2 separate regions of the Homo sapiens genome follow, and region 1 is linked to region 2. The links are contacts of gene promoters, found by promoter capture Hi-C in blood cells and fetal thymus (Javierre and others, 2016). All regions are on one chromosome and are shown on one strand. Each heading gives the region's core, a stretch centred on a gene start or on the middle of the fragment in contact. The rest is flanking DNA. Distances are from core to core; before and after follow the strand shown. Region 1 holds the start of KAT6A (lysine acetyltransferase 6A). Region 2 holds the start of THAP1 (THAP domain containing 1).

Region 1 (2,968 bases), core at 24-2,523, 790 kb before region 2:
GTCTAAACTAAATGAGAAGCTACATCCTGAGTTTAACAAGCTGGGAACGAACGTCCTAATTGACTAAGCTTCGCAGGTAAAAGAATGAGTGACAGTCACTCATTGTCTTTCCAGTCGGGATTGTCATCAGTCTCCAGGTCTTCGGAAAGTCAAGCGCCTGCAGCCTCGGATCTTAACTCCCGGAAAGTACACGAGCGGCTAGAGCGAGCGCAACTCGCTTCCGACAGTCCTTCCCGTCCCCATTCCCCACCCCTAAACACGTCTTCGCGCTCTCTTTTCAAAGAGCGAGAAACTTTAAAAACTTGGATCTGCACAGCCCGGCAGCTCGCCGACGGGGCGCTGCACCGTTTCCACGCGATGGAAACAGACCCCGAGCACAAGTTAACAATGAAATCACGTGAAGGAGTTCAGAGCGGTGCATAGCCCCGGCCCAGCTCCGCACCCTAAGCTCTGGGGGCCGGCTCGAGGGCGGCGCGGGTTGCTGGGAGCCTGACAGTCGCGCACCGGGCCAAGCCGCGAGGTTGACAGGCGCCCGGCCTCCCCTCGGCGGCTGGGCTGACAGCCCGGCAGACACAACACCACACGTGCTGCGCCTCGCACCACAACACCCGCCGGCCTGTCAGCCCCGCTCGCCGCCTCAGCCCCGCTCGGATCCCCGCGCCCCCGGCCGGAGCCAAAGCCGGAGCCGGAACCCGAGCCCGAGCCCGAACCCGAGCGCCCGCGAGCGCGGGGAGAAGCGGCCCGGCCCGGCACAGCCGGCACGCGCGCGGCGGGCGGGTGGGCGCGCCCCGAGGGAGAGCGGGCTCGCCGGCTCCGCCAGCCCGAGGCTCCGCGGCCTGGGCCGCTCGCCGCCCGCCCACCCGCCGGCTCCCCCAGGGCGGGCCCGGCCGGCGGGATCGGGGGCGCGGGGCCCGCGAGCGCGGGGCCGGGCGGCGGCGCGCGGGCCGCGGGCCGGGGCAGCCGGGCGCCGAACAAGCGAGCAAGCGAGCGAGCGAGCGGGCGGGCGCGAGGGGGCGGCCACGGCGCCCCAGCCCGAGGCCTGGCGCAGAGCAGCGGGAGGCGGCGCAGGCCGCGGCGGGGCCTGCAGCGGCCCGCCGACCCCGCGAGGCAGCGGAGTGGGCCCTGGAGCGGCTCGGCCTCGGGCTGGGCGGCCGGGGGCGGCCGGGAACGGCCCCTCGGCTACTTACCGGGAGGAAGGACAGCCGAGATCCCGGGGCCCCGGGCCGGACCGCGGAGATGCCCCAAACTGACACGGCCGCCATCTTGGAGACAGTGAGCTCCAGCCGGGGGGAGGGGAGGCAAGGCGGCGGAACAGCCGCGGGGGGAGGGGAGCGTCGCGAGGGAACGGCGGCCTGGGGGAGGGAGCTGGAAGAGCCTGGGCGGGCGGCGAGGGGAGGCGGAGGCCCGGCAGCGCGGGTGGGGGGCGGCCGAGAGCGGGAAGAGCTGGGCCGAGAGCCGGGAAAGGCCGGAGGGCGGGGCGGGGCAGCAGGGAAGAGCCGGCCGGCGGGGTCACGTGGGGCCGGTACAAAAGGCCAAAGCCAGGGGAGGAGGAGGACTTGGTGGGGCTGGAGGCTGGGGAGCGGGGGTTCCTCCTCTCCCGTCTCACGCGTTTAAGTCAGACGGCGACCCGGGAGAGGAGGAGCTGGTGCACCCCATGCCACCGCTGGGGAAACTGAGGGCAGGAGTCTGGGTGGGGTGGCTTCAGTGTGGCACGGAAATCCGGCAGCCACGCAGGATGGGAACTCTCGGCGGCGTCTGTTTACAGTTAGTGAGCCCTCCCTCCCCACTCATTTGCCTGCACAGCGACTTTCCGGAGCCCGAGGGCGGGGCCTGGGGGGCGGAGAGGAGGCGGCTTCCCGTCCTCACCCCTGGCAGCTCGCCTCAGCCCCCGACGGCTCTCCTGTGTCGGTGGGAAGAGTTGGGGAGAGGGTGGAACCAGAAGCACCCGTCTTAACCCCTTTCAGCAGTGACTTCATTTCTTCCCTCCCCCAGCAGCTGAGAGGGTTCTTGGAGCTCACTAGAGCCATTTTATGGGAGACTCCACAGACCTGGGTCGTGTGACTTGGACAAGGTCACACAGCTAGTATGTGGCGCGCACCTGAGCCTGGGACTGAGATTTGTCTTATTCCAAAGCCGGTCTTCCCTTCTTGCCCTGTGCGGAACTCTTGTCCATACTTAGGGCGTTGGAACCACGAGCAGGCGGTTCTTCATGGCCTGCCTGTCCACTACTGGCTGTATGGACGTTTCTTTGTCTTGCCTTTCATCTACTTTAAACTCTTTGATGCAGAGACTGAGTCATACTTTTTTTTTTTTTTTTGAGACAGTGTCGCTCTGTTGCCCAGGCTGGAGTGCAAGTGGTGCGATCTTGGCTCACTGCAACCTCCGTCTCCTGGGTTCAAGCGATTCTCCTACCTCATCCTCCTGAGTAGCTGGGACTGCAGGCGCCCGCCACCACGCCTGGCTTATTTTTGTATTTTTAGTAGAGACGGGGTGTCACTATGTTGGCCAGGCCGCTGGTCTCGAACTCCTGACTTCAAGTGATCCGCCCTCTTCGGCCTCCCAAAGTGCTGGGATTACAGGCCTGAGACACTGCACCTGGCCAAGTCATGCATTTTTTTTTTTTCTGCATTCACTAGAAAGACAGTAGACATGAAAAAGACACTAAATGTTTAATCGTTGACATGGACGTGTATCCTGCTGCCTGACCTTTATCTGCCCTGTCCCCAACCCCATACGACACACCCCGCCTAGACTGTCGCCCGCAATACCTCATTTTATCTCAGCTTTAGCTTTTAAGGGCCTCCCTCTCACCCACTGCCTTAACTTCCATGCTGACTTCCTTTTCTGAACTTCTGTAGTAGTATCATTTGCTCTAGTCATTTTGCACTTACATGTGATATATATATATATATATATATATTCCGAATACATTCACTGGTAAATGCTCTCCTATAATGACTCTGCATCT
Region 2 (3,396 bases), core at 58-2,557:
TTGCTTTTGTAATTATTTACCTAATTATAAAAGATAATTAGCTAATTACCTATGGCTAATCTGTATAGTTTACCCCTGGATCTGATTTCTTACCTATCATCTGCGTATAGCTGTCAGGAATTCTTGCAAAGAAAACTTAACATAAATGTAATTAAAATTTGTAAACAAATTCAGCTGAATGAAAATGTTATGTCACATTTTACAAGCGTTTATCATAAGTAATTACAACTCTGCACTTTTTTCCTATTTTCAAGAGAATATTTTTGATCCTATCACTTAACTGTGCTACCTACTGGATAAGACAGCTCTGAAAGCTGTGGGGCAGTTTCTTTCGAAAGAGCTTTCTCTATGCACAGGTAATGCCATAATAAATAAAGATCCGTGTGAGTCATTTTATTATGATCCATGTTGTAACTGTCCATATTATCATTATTGTGTGCTGAAAAGATAACGATTTATCTCGGCAGTACCTGAAGCTTTCTCCAAAATACAGGGTCCTTAAAGCTTAGTTCCTAGAGATTGGGGGCAAAAATTCTCCCTGATTTCCCAGCCAAAAAACCCTTAATTGCTACGATGCTGGCCTCCCATCCACGGCAAGGGCGAAAAGTAGTGATTTCTTCGTTTAAAGGCCTTTGTTTCTATTTTAAATTTACCCCTAAGACCATATTAAAACACCTGGCTGCTCTGTGACCCTGGTGGTGGCAAAACCCGCGCCACCCTAGGCATCGCCCGTGGGCTCCGAACGCGTCAACCCAGGCCGTGAGCGAAGCCTGCAACCAGGGCCTGTTCCAGGAGCGCGAGAAACGGCTGCCGCGGCGACGCGCGCCGAGAACGCGCGATCGGGCGGCGGTTCCCAGCGGGACGCGGTGGGAAACGCCCGACACGGCCGGCCCCAGACCCCACCCGCCCCTCGCGCGGACACGCGCCTGGCTCCGCCCCCGGCCCCGCCGGCCGCGCGCCCCCACCCCGGCTGAGACCGGCCCCGCGAGGCGCGCAGGGTCCTCACTTGTGGAAAGAAACGGGCTTGTCCTTGTCGTAGCGGTTCTTGCAGCCGTAGGCGGAGCAGGACTGCACCATCCTTCCGGTCCTCAGGCACTTCACTTCTGCCGCCGCAGAAGGCAGGGGAAGCTGTTCTCAGTGTCGCTGCGCTCGGTTGGATTCCCTCGCTTCTTTTGTAGCTTTGGCCAACAGTTACAGTGATGGTGGCCTCCCTCGGGGGTGACTAGTGTGCCCGTTTTGTTGTTTGCATTAGCAGAAGGACCACAGCCATCGCCCGTCTCCCATCTCCAAGATGGCGGAGGCAGCTTCAACCTCACCTCTCGCGAGGGGTGCGTCCCACTGTCTCTGATTAGCCCCGAGGTCAGAGGTAACGTTTCCTGGGAAGCTAACTATTGGCTGAGGCCAGGTGTTTCCGGCGGTGGCTTCAGAGTTGCCGAAGTGGGCGGAGCCCTGAGCTTCCGGCAGGCAGGAAGGAACTGCTTGTGGGGGGAGGAGGCGCGGCGGGAGGCCGGATTCCTGGGGCATCCTCCAGCCCCGGGCTGTTCCCGTGGGTTAATTGATGCGGACCTTTTCTGGGGCAGCTTACAGTAGGGAACAACTAGGGCCTCTTGGAGAACAGGTGTAAAGCCGAGGTCGTTGGCTGATTGCGCCCATTTCTTTAAAAGGGCGGACACAGATGGTGTATGATTAATAAAATTGTGGAACCTTTTCCCAGAGTGCTAATCTTTATCCCATTACCTGTGTCTTCAGGTATCACAAGTTTCTGTGAGAGCCAACGTGACAGATTTTTAGCAATGAAAAAAGACACACTCGCCAAATCATCTCAATTGCCAACGCAGAAGCGTTTTATATATATGTATGTATATGTATGTATATATGTGTGTATGTATATATGTGTGTGTGTATGTATATATATATATATATATGTAATTTTTTAAATAAATAGAGGCGTTGTCTCCCCACGTTGCCCAGGTCAGTCTGGAACTCGAGCTCAAGGGATCCTCCCATCTCGACCTCCCCATGGGTTGGGATTACAGGAGTTGAGCCACCAGGCTGTCCCTCCCCAGAAGCTTTTCTGAAGGCTCTCCATTGCTGTGATTTCCATGTGCTGTGTTGCAAATAGCGAACTGCTGCAGCAATTTTCACACCTGAGAGAGAATATGTTAGAGGGGTTCGAACTAGAGCGACTCTGTGTTGAGTGAGGGCTAGGAAAATGAGGCTGGGACTTGCTGGGCTGCATTCCCGGGAAGTTAGGTATTCCTAGCCTCTAGATGTGTATACCATTAAGGCAACAGATTGATAATGTTTACTACACAGACCCAGACTACCAAGTGTCCAGATATCCCGATATTTTGAGAACAGAAGCATTCCTAATTTTGCTTTAAAGATAATAATATTGGGCTGGGCACAGTGCCTCACGCCTGTAATCCCAGCACTTTGGAAGGCCGAGGCGGGCGGATCACTTGAGGTCAGGAGTTCAAGACTAGCCTGGTCAACATGGTGAAAACGTCTCTACTAAAAATACAAAAATTAACCGGGTGTGGTGGCACATGCCCTCGAATTTCAGCTACTCTGGAGGCTGAGGCAGGATAATCGCTTGAATCCGGGAGGCGGGGGTTGCAGTGAGCCGTGCTTGCACCACTGCACTCCAGCCTGGGCGACAGAGTAAGACTCTGTCTCATAAATAAAGATAATATCGATTCTTACATAATATAGTAATTAATCCTTTATCACAAACCCTTGTAGCAAAGCACATCTCCCCATGATCTTTTTTTATCCTATATATAAACTAAGTGTTGTACTTAGGGTGGACGCGTTCCTCCTCTTACTTTCGGGAATGCCCTACTCTGTCTGTGGAGTAGCTGTACTTTCACCACTTTACGTTCTTAATAAACTTGCTTTTGCTTTGTACTGTGGACTTGCCCTGAATTCTGTCTTGCGTGAGATCCAAGAACCCTGTCTTGGGGTCTGGATTGGGACCCCTTTCCTGTAACAGTTTTACTTCATTCCCTGCTCCTTTTCTTTATATAGATCTGAGCCAGGCAGACCTGGAGAGCGGACTGTTGAGTAATCCCTTGGCCCTTATTCTCTACCTTTCCTGCCCTTTTAAATGTTGCTGTTTCCCCAGGGTTCCATCTTCTGCCCTCCTCTAACTCCTAAACACCCTGCTCCTTAAACTGAACCAAATACCATAATTCTCTCATCTTTTATTTCCTTTGTATATCCGTTCTGCCTTTGGGATTATCATCTGTGAATTATCATCTGTGAATTATCTGTTCAACAGTTGTCTAAACCAGAAACCTTGGAGTCATCTTGGATTTTTTTTGTCACCCATAAAACCCGTTGATGACCAGGTTAATTTTGTAGACTAAATAAATAAATGCCCCTTAAATCCAT

Evidence for each region. Contacts are between HindIII fragments. The CHiCAGO score rates a contact against its expected background, and 5 or more counts as called.
Region 1: a contact is called between the fragment with the promoter of KAT6A here and the fragment with the promoter of THAP1 in region 2, in 3 of 17 cell types (fetal thymus, total CD8 T cells and naive CD4 T cells). The highest score is 7.7, in fetal thymus.

Annotation. Positions count from the first base shown.
Region 1 is chr8:42,050,714-42,053,681 of GRCh38, forward strand. It overlaps KAT6A (lysine acetyltransferase 6A), which reads right to left and starts at 1,274. Exons shown (of 17, transcript NM_006766.5): 1 at 1,188-1,274. KAT6A-AS1 (KAT6A antisense RNA 1) reads left to right here and starts at 1,037. Exons shown (of 2, transcript NR_136589.1): 1 at 1,037-1,272. RefSeq lists silencers at 368-837, 938-1,567, 1,758-1,917 and enhancers at 1,366-1,887, 1,888-2,408. The HindIII fragment of the contact is 5,822 bases long and covers 67-2,968 here.
Region 2 is chr8:42,842,018-42,845,413 of GRCh38, forward strand. It overlaps THAP1 (THAP domain containing 1), which reads right to left and starts at 1,308. Exons shown (of 3, transcript NM_018105.3): 1 at 1,007-1,308. The coding sequence starts at 1,077. LOC124901940 (a long non-coding RNA gene) reads left to right here and starts at 917. Exons shown (of 2, transcript XR_007060901.1): 1 at 917-1,366; 2 at 1,750-3,395. RefSeq lists enhancers at 901-1,691, 1,027-1,386 and a silencer at 907-996. The HindIII fragment of the contact is 1,565 bases long and covers 503-2,067 here.